Regions from separate parts of the Homo sapiens genome. Here region 1 is linked to region 2. Evidence: promoter capture Hi-C in 16 types of primary human blood cells and fetal thymus (Javierre and others, 2016). All regions are on one chromosome and are shown on one strand. Each heading gives the region's core, a stretch centred on a gene start or on the middle of the fragment in contact. The rest is flanking DNA. Distances are from core to core; before and after follow the strand shown.

The links. Contacts are between HindIII fragments. The CHiCAGO score rates a contact against its expected background, and 5 or more counts as called.
Region 1: a fragment that was not itself captured here is called in contact with the fragment with the promoter of ING3 in region 2 in 2 of 17 cell types (neutrophils and total CD4 T cells); the score reaches 8.1 in neutrophils.

The regions. Positions count from the first base shown.
Region 1 is chr7:108,522,538-108,527,268 of GRCh38, forward strand. It overlaps PNPLA8 (patatin like domain 8, phospholipase A2), which reads right to left and starts at 3,598. Exons shown (of 11, transcript NM_001256007.3): 1 at 3,492-3,598. It overlaps LOC124901722 (a long non-coding RNA gene), which reads left to right and starts at 3,938. Exons shown (of 2, transcript XR_007060473.1): 1 at 3,938-4,731. RefSeq lists enhancers at 1,520-2,055, 2,735-3,695, 3,467-3,586, 3,877-4,216. The HindIII fragment of the contact is 2,782 bases long and covers 1,679-4,460 here.
Region 2 is chr7:120,947,778-120,952,914 of GRCh38, forward strand. It overlaps ING3 (inhibitor of growth family member 3), which reads left to right and starts at 3,000. Exons shown (of 12, transcript NM_019071.3): 1 at 3,000-3,147; 2 at 3,387-3,458. The coding sequence starts at 3,120. RefSeq lists an enhancer at 3,543-3,622. The HindIII fragment of the contact is 9,487 bases long and covers 1-5,137 here.

The DNA of each region.
Region 1 (4,731 bases), core at 1,820-4,319, about 12 Mb before region 2:
ATTGATGCATTATGTCTCACTAAAATGTATAGAGGCAAGTGGCATCTGACCACCTTGGGCACATGTCAGCAGGACCTCCTGAGGCTGTGTCACGGGTGCGTCCTTAAACTCGACAAAATTTTCTAGATTGAGACCTGTCTCAGATATTTTGGGGTCACAGACCCCAAAATTCAGGCAGGAAATGGAGACTAGGCTATGGTAAGAATTTTGCATTGTTTCTTTCCAATATGACGAATTTATGAAACCACCTATCAACTTGGCATTAAAATACAGTACAAAAGGCCAAAATAAGGGAACTATTACAAGATTAGACAATTTCATAATCATGAGAGATTTAATACACCTTTCTCAGAAACTACAACTATCAAGCAAAAATTACAAAACAAAGATGACCAACAAAATCAATAAGTTTAATTGCCCCCAAATCACAACACTAGTAAATGCAAGGTAAGTGTTTTGAGAGTACATTCAGCCAGAAGTTAGATGGCAAAAACACAGGAAGAAGAATGTAAAGTGAGATGCTATCATCAACTGAAAAAAGAGCAAGGAAGAATAGAGGTAGTATAAATACAATGGAGGTACGAATAAAACAAAACGGAGAGGCTGGGACCAAACACTTAGAGAAGGGAATGGAGTTTTAACTAGAGGAATTAAGGGAATTGTTAGATGGAGACCCAGCTAAGGATGGAAAGAATGAATTTACAGAGTATGTCACTTAATTATTAATATAACAGTCAAAAGGGTGACAACAGTCTGAAGGTAACAGTACTGAGGAGAGCAAAGATCACCTGGTGGCCATCGAGCAGACCATCCAGAGGGAAAGCTCCTTATCTGAGGAATTCAGAAACAATTAGACTTCTCTATTAGCTAAAGCCGGCATCTGGTACCAGGATTCTTTCCCAGAAATTTATAAGTAACTAGAATCTCTATACATGTCCAGAATGTATGCATGTCGAAACTCACTGTGCAACTTTTGCTGATATCAAAGCACCAAAATGTCTATAAATGTAATCACTGATCATGACCTACGTGGCTAATATGGTCCAAGTTACCCTTCAGCTTCTGCTTTAAGGTCCATAAATACCCCTAAGAAAAAATCCACTGCGGTGAGCTGTCCTCTCTTGCTGAGGCGCCTGGCTGCACTCTTCTGCAGCACTCTTTCTATCCAATAAAACTTTCCTTTTCAAACCTACGGTGTTGTCGGTAAATTTTTCTTACTACCCTACTACCCCAAGCTGACCACTTTCTGATGCTGGGGCTCTGACACCTCACCCAGCAAGTACTAGTGTGGGGAAGAGGGCCACTCTGAACACTTTGAAAGTAAGGGAAAAAAGAGAAAACAACAAAACACAGGACTTGACAGCCAAGAATGGGGTAAAGAGAGGGAAGTGTTAAGAGAGCTCTAAGGTTTTAAATCTGAAAAATACGGAGAGTGCCATTTGCGAATATGAGAAAACTGTGAAGGGGACAATTTAATAGGAGAGAAAAACACATTTTCTTTTGGATTCACAGGATGAAGTAACAGTGGGACATTCAAATGGAAATGTACACAGACTGTGGATTTACTTGTGGAATTACCAGCATAGTGGCAGCAGAAACCACAACATTAGACGTATTTACCAGATGATAGTTTACAGTAATAATACATGACTATTTTGGGATCAGGCAACCTGAGTAAAGCTTTTCTTCCTTGAAAAATGTGTATTTGCAATACAAACTATATTTTCCATAATATTTCAGGATATTCACATGCCCACTGAAGTATATTTGGGTTTCAAACACGAAACTCTGGTTTAGGGAGAGCGACAGGGGTAGAGCCTTGAGTGCCACCCAGAGCTAGGAAGAGGAAGAAAAGACTCTAAAGGAAACAAAACAGGAGAAAAGCCACCCTGAAAAAATCAGGACACTGAAAACCAAGACAGGACCAAATTTTTTCAAGTAATGGATAATGAACAGAATAAAATACTTGAGTACTGCAGAGAAAGATAAGAACTAAGAAATGACTGGCCAGGTGCGGTGGCTCAGGCCTGAAATCCCAGCACTTTGGGAGGCCGAGGCGGGCGGATCACCTGAGGCCAGGAGTTTGAGAGCAGCCTGGCCAACATGGGGAAACCCGTCTCTACTTAAAAAAATTAGCCGGGTGTGGTTGCGCACGCCTGTAAATCCCAGCTACTCGGGAGGCTGAAGCAAGAGAATCGTTTGAACCTTGCAGTGAGTCGAGATCGCACCAAGGCACTCCAGCCTGGGCGACAGAGAGAGACTCCCAACAACAACAAAAAATGGCAGGACAGGAAGGTGTCTATGGCTCAGCATTCTAACTCTGACCTTTTTACAAATATATATTCCATGAGTGAAGCAATATGCAGCTTCAGCACAACCCCTCTAACTGGGGTAAAAAAAAACAACTCAAAGTACAGGCTGTTCTTGTAACAACTTTGCATGTGAAACAAGTGAATAGCTAAACTAGTGAAACTGGCCCTTTCATTCAACATCACTCATTAAAAGGGCGTTTACAAGATTTTAATTTAGTCCTGATATAGAAATAAAAAAAGAGATCAACATTAAGAAAAAGTTGATTATAATTACGAAATAAAAACATGTTCTTATATTGAAAGGACAACTAATTTGCATAAGCAATTTAACAAAATAGCTAAAATGGGCTTGATACAACTGCCTCACAAGGCATAAGCTCTTAATGTTTCACTGTTTAACAGCATTTTCTTAATACACTGAAACATTTGTCATTTTTGAACTCTCAGAAATTAGGACTGCAGAACCAGGATACAACTGTTTTGGAATTGAAAACAGTATTTTAAGCAGGATTATATGATAGTCCCTTATGTCACAACTCTCCTGAGTTTTTCCTATGAGTCACCATTTTAAAGTTATCATTGTATTAGGCGTGGAAAGCAGGTTCCTTCCAGCACAATGATAGAAATGACACAGGGATAGGAAGCACTGCAACACAGTGATTCATACACCTTATCCACTTAAGCAACAGCGGTCAAGGATAGAATCAAATGTGGATGGGGTCAGAAAGAGATTACTGACAAAAAATATCAGGCAGTAGAATCACCAGGTGCACACTGACAGTCGAGAATGATGTAGACTAGGGAAACCCTCCTGAGAGTGACCAGTTAACTACTGGAGAACACTACAGTCCAGGGGAAGGCAGACAGACTCTGGAAAATTGAGGAGGGAGTCGTGGGGATGGGACAGGGGGAGCAGGGCGGGACCTGCGAAACCAAATACGGTTTGCGCTTCTGGGGCAGCAAAGCCCACGGGGGCGGAGGGCGCCGAGTACCAATGAGCTCCAGGACCTGCGGGCTCCTTCCAGCGCCAGCTCCTCCCCAAAGCCTGGCGTGTCCCCACCCTCTCGCTCGGGAAGTGCCCTCCAAAGAAAGAAAGGACGACCCGGAGCGCCGGACAAGGGTCCAGAACGATCAACCAGCCTCCTATCGTCCCGCCCCTGTCCCCTCGCGGCTACTTACCGGGATGCAGGCCGCAGTCACTAGGGCTGCAGCGGCGACTCGCTCGTTCCCGGCAATGACGTCCACTCCAACCGGCCTGCATCAGCTGAGCTTCCAACACAAACACTGGCGCAGCAGCTAGGTCGCCACCCACTCAGCCCCGCCCCGCTCCGCCCCCAGCGGAAGTGACGCGCTAGAAGTTTGGGTCTACCCGCGGGCCGGGGTGAGGATTTTCCGCCTCGCTCAGGCCTCTGCCTCCTTGTCAATCTCCGTTCCTCCCCCGCCCCGAGATATGCGCAATAGAGCATGACGGAGCGCAAGGCGGGAAGCCGCGACAGACGTGTGTGCGTGCGTGCGTGCGTGCGTGATGCGCGAGGCGTGGCTTGCTGGTGGGGCGTGCTGTGCCTTGGTTGGTTGCCGGGTGTGAGAGCGGTGGGACTTCGTTTTGCCTTCCTGGGCGGGACCTCGGAGCAGTGTCCTGGTTTGCTTGTTTGCGGGCCGCTATTCCCTTTCAGCAGAGATAAGCCTCCCTCTCCGCGTCCCTGAAGCCCCTGCCTGCGCTGAGTTCCTTGGAGCTGGGGGCTGCGATACCAGTCTCTTGGAGGGTGGTGCCCGGCGCGGCCGCGCCCCTTTCTCTATATCCATTCCTGGGCATGGCCACCCAGACTAAATGTCACTCAAAAGCGAGTTGACATATATTACTGTATTGGAAGTTAGCATAAACCGCCCCACAAATGGTCCCACACGTAACACATCTTTTTAAAATTGTGGCATTTCATACGTACCACAGGGGCAAACTACAGCCCTCAGGGCAAATCCAGCCCACCGCAGGTTCTGCTGTACTAGGAGCTAAAAATGGGTTTCACATTTTTCAAAGGTTAAAAAAAAAGTTTTGCGACAGATGACAATTATATGACATTCATATTTGTGTCTGCTTTTTAAAGTTTCATTAGAACATAGCTTTGCATTCCTATACATGCTGTTAATTAAAGCTTTTATACTACAATAGCGAATTTGGGTAGTTGCAATAGCCCCTTACCCTCTTGAAGTGACCTTGCAATTACGTTGAGGTCGGGAAAACAGATCAGTTTCAACTAGTTATCAACCTCAAAATGTTATCAAGACTTATACTGTACTCTCAAGGCTTACCCACTACCCATGGGTATGTATGCTTTAGCCCCCTGTAAGGTTATTGTAAAGTCCTTAAGGAAGGGGATTCTTTGACCTGTCAAATGTAGTGGATGTTACCCTGATAGTTGTG
Region 2 (5,137 bases), core at 1,750-4,249:
GGGAAAGGCAAGGGAAAAAGTAGAGCTTCTCTGGGGGCTCTCACCAGCAGGAGTTTGTGGGCCATGTATTTACTGTCCTGTACTTCTGTAAGGTTGCCAGTCTCTGTGTCTTTTCATTCCCAATTTCAAATCATAAGAAAATGCATCTGATAGGTCCAGCTTTGGTGAATCCCTGATAAATTAATGAGTTTTGATACAGACATGGTCAATCCATATGAGGGGCACTCCCTGGAAATGCAGTATTGGTTTTAAGTAGGCAGCCACTCAAAAATGGTATCTACTGTATGACCTAATTATGTAAGAAGTTATCACAAGCCTATGCAAACATAATTGTTGCAGCTCAGCTGATACATGTTCCAACAATAAGAGTTACATTATTTAACTAAAATATACAGTGTGTAAGTTTTATTTTTGGTTTCTGTGGAGTGTGTATTTATACTGACTGAATTGGGAATGATTTATTATCTCATTTCCCTTAATATGGAACACTCCCTGAGGAAGCTCAGTTTACACTGAAATGATGTACTTCTATTCATGATAGCATACCATTTTAGCTACTCTGAAAGAGCCACCTGGCAAAAACAACTAAAAGTGCTAGATTTAAAAAAATACACTGATGAACTAGTAGGAAATTAAGGAATTTTCAGAACGAATATAAAAGGGGAAAAAGAAGGAAAATGAAAATATCCTGAGAAATAAGTGCAAGCCAAAGTAGGCTTTTGTTCAGAGACTATCTGTCAAGTTCTGGACACCTAGAGCTCTTACTTTAATAGCTGTGCAGCATGCCAGGGTCAGAAGATAAACCCAAGTATCAGTTTAAAAGGAAGAGTCTTACAGCAGACAAAAATCTGGGGCCCCAATGGACTATACTCTCCATGTAAGGGTAAATGACATATAAGCCTCATGCACAGAATAGGCCAGTAATGAAACATGTCTGTCTTGGCCTTGGAGCCCAGTAAAGAAAGAAAAAAAAATTCTCCTCTGAGAATCTGTAACAATCCATTTGGGATAGAGGCCCAAATTCAATCTATCTGTGCAATACAATAAACCTCAAGGGGACAATTTAATCTGGTCCTAGGGGTTTATGATGTCTCCAAACAAACTGACAAGCAAATTCTAATGCTCTCCATGAAAACTCAATTTCAACTCCAGCTCAAAGAATCCTTATGCTTGTAATCCCAGAAACAGGAATTCAGAGTCCAAAATCGCAACCCAACAGGAAAAAGCCACCATGAGTAAAAGTGCCCATTTCTGAAGAAATAGCACTAAAAGGCCCATAAATGTTTCAATATTAGGTTTAACAGAAACAAGATACAGACTAAATAATTTGTATAAGAAATTATAAGATGTCTTGAAAAGAGAACCGAATAGAACTTCCAAACCTGAAAAATTATGAAAATTCTAAAATAAAACATATAAAAGAAAGATTAAGATAAATAAGAGAATAAAGAGAGAAAGTCTTAATGGAAAAAATGAGAAATAAGCAATACTGAAAAGACAAACGCTGAGAATTTTCTAGAATTGTTGCAGGGCACCAATCCTGAAATTCAGGAATCCCCTCAAATCCTAAGCATAATTTTAAAATTTTAAGGAAAGAAAAGGGAATAAGGAAGGAATTCAGACTTAGATCACTACAAAACTGCAAAAAGATGTCAAAGAGATGTTAAAAGCAGCCAGAAGAAGGAAGGATGGGAAACGAAGAAAGGAGGAAAAAAAGAAGGGAGAAAAAGATCGAAAGTACTTGATTTTCGATGGAAGTAATGAAAAACTTAACTAGAAACTATAAAATTCTAATTCTTATTAGGATCGAAGTAAGGTTCCGTTGAGATTCATCATGATTCATCATTCACGACAGGAAAGTTTCCTGCTTAAGAGCAGTGAAAACCTTGAGTACAAGAGTATGTAATGGAGAAGGAAAGCAAGAAACACACACACACAGTTTCAACTGCAATTTGAAAAACAGAAAATGAACAATAAATTATGAACTAATGACAATTTCCCCAGAAAATCGAAAAGTTAAGAAGAGTGGAAAATAACAATATCTAGCATTTATTGAGTGCAAGAGTTTTTAATAAAAAACAATTTAAAAAGAAACTGAGTAGGGACGTACTAAATATATCACAGGAAAACATTTGCTGGGAGAGGTCGAAAAGTAGAAACTAAAGAACGCCGAAGACAACCAACCTCGAATATGGACTATTTACTCAACATAAAGTTACTGCTATTAACAGCCTATTAGAAATCAAGGCTGCATCCGTAATTCATGGCTGCTCACTGTGATGATGAAGATTATTATTATTATTATTTGCGGATGCAGATTGTATGTATAGATCAATTACATTAGAATGACGATTAGATGGACCGCAAACTAGAATATATAAGTGGCTACTGACACTATTTGTGCATCTTTTAATCTGGGAAATGTATATTCACTCCATAGTCTCAGTATAAACTATTTTAAAATTACACGTAAGCCAACCAGGTGTCTCTTTTATATTTTAGAGTGAATAATGAGGATAAATTCCAGTAGAGAGTTCTATTTTAAGCAATCCAAATTCCCCGAACTTTGCTGATTATTCTAGTGTTTAGAACCTTTGCTATTTGCCTGGCACTTCTTGAAACCCATAACTCACAAACGCCGGGGCATGGAATCACATCAAAGAACAGGTGAAAAGTTGTTCCTAGTTGTGTTATGCAGGTGCATACAACTCCCGCCATTCTCTGTGCAAAAATCAACAAATAAACAGAGGCACCGCATTTCGGATTCTGTTACGCACTGTTTGCAATGGCGCCCGGTATTCGTAGTTTCTGCGAGGGGAGCCGCCAGCGCGCCAACCCTCGCTGAGGAGGAAGAAAACTACATTTCCCACAGAGGCACGGGGGCGAACACCGGCCGGGCTACGTCATTGCTTGAACCAACCAATAGCAGCTCCGGGCGGCAGTGAGGCAAGCGCCTCAGGCGCCAAAGTGGTTTTTTTTTTTTTCTTTTTTTTTTTTTGCCGGAGTCGAGCGGGTGCTGCTAGCGGAGGCGCCATATTGGAGGGGACAAAACTCCGGCGACAGCGAGTGACACAAATAAACCCCTGGACCCCCTTGTTCCCTCAGCTCTAAGGGCCGCGATGTTGTACCTAGAAGACTATCTGGAAAGTGAGTGCGCGGCGCTGGCGGCGGCCGCCAGTGGGACGTGCGGGCGGGCAAGAGCGCGAGTGGACGGGCAGCGAGATGGCGGGAGGGAGGGGGCGGCGGGGGATGTTTCTTTCTCACGGTAACTGGCAGCCTCGTTGTGGGCTGCCGGCCCCCTCGACCCCCCTGACGCACGCGCGCAGTGACGTAAGCGCGTATTTCGCCGTTGGCCCCGCCCCTCTGACGGACTCTCCCTTTGACAGTGATTGAGCAGCTTCCTATGGATCTGCGGGACCGCTTCACGGAAATGCGCGAGATGGACCTGCAGGTGCAGAGTAAGTCGGCGCGTCTACTACTCCTGTTCGCTGCGCGCGTTCAGTGCCAGACTTGCTTGTCATCACTGCTAGCGCCTAGTGCTCTTTCACTGTCCTCTGGCTCACTCCGCTAGTGCATAAGGAGTTGTCAAAAAGAACTGGCAGCCCTGAATCTCGCCTTCCCCTTCCCTCCCATGCTACTTTTTTCTGGCTTTTGCAAGAGCAGGAGGCATTGGGACACGTGTATTCCTTTCTAGAATGTGGGATTGTGCAAAAAATATTTCTCTACCGTCATTGACATAGTTATCTATGTTTCAATGGACGTCAGCATAATAAATGTTGAGATGTCGTCTTGAGCCTTTTCGTATCGAACTTAGATTTCAGCATTTATACTTATTTTAAAGTTCATCCTATTCACAGTTTTTCAAGAGTGGAAAGCACAGAAGCAGAGGTTATATATAGCTCTTTAGAGACCATGGCAAATGTCAAATTTTGAAAACTTAGTTACACATTAGATACATTTTAAATTGTAACAGAATCGTCATTTTCTTGGTTAAAATGAGTGACAGAAATTAGATTTCACTGTAAAGTTTCTTATGTGCTGTACTAAAAATTTTAGCAGTTAATGAACATTTCTTTTTCTTTCAGTGATAGCTTGGTAGTCTCTAGGACTTTTTCCCCAAATTAACTTTGCTCTTTCATAGAGCAACGACTATAAATAGGTGGCTCAGGGACCACCTGCTGCAGCTAAGAACCTGTCCTTTTCACTGCTCCTGGCTTCTCTGCCCATGACCACACACCCACTTCTATACCCTTTGCTTATGAGTATATTTTTCCGGTAAGTTTCAGGTGGCACATAATAAAAAGTGGTGGCATGGAAGCCACTTTCTGTTCAGTGGATTGTGATATGAAGTATGAATTGTGTGTGTGGTTCTCCAGCTATCTCACAAATTCATTTTAATTTTAGTGTAGTTGAAATGCTGAAGATTTGCTGAAGTAGTGTTCTCTGCAGGACTGAGCACAGACATTGATGTCAGATCTGAGTTTGTTTTAGGGCTTTACTAATTTACTCATTGACTCTGACTGTATTATCACTTGTGAGGGGCTTACATTGTCTATAAAAAGAGAATCATCCAAGGATTTAAAATGTTACACATGGATTAGAATTTCTAGTATCTGATACAAAGTAGGCATTAAATAAAGGGTAACTTACTTTAAATTATTTTTATATTTTATTGTTTAAAATTTTAAATTCTCTTGTAATTTGGGCTTACATTATACATATTACAGGCTTTTTAAACGTGCATTTCTTTACAGTAACTAGAATTTTCTAAAGTTAATAGGTATTATGGATTAACAGAACTGTGTGCCAAATAAATTCAGAAATGCTTATTTAAACAAAGGAACATACTTCTAAAAAATTAACCATAGGACTTCATAGAGTCTTTAAAAGGCTATTGTGGACTGGAAATCTCCAAAAGAAGTATATTATGAAAAGATTTTTCTCAACTTACATAACAACAGAATCTTTTTTATTAATTTTTCCTTTTTTTTTTTAGCAGACATCCAATGAGATGATTAGTCTTGGCATATAATTTGGGGAAAACTTACCTAGAATTAATGTTTAAATGATTGTACCTACTACTTTCAGTTGGGATATGACATGATGAGATGTTTAATGCCATATACCAAATATTTTT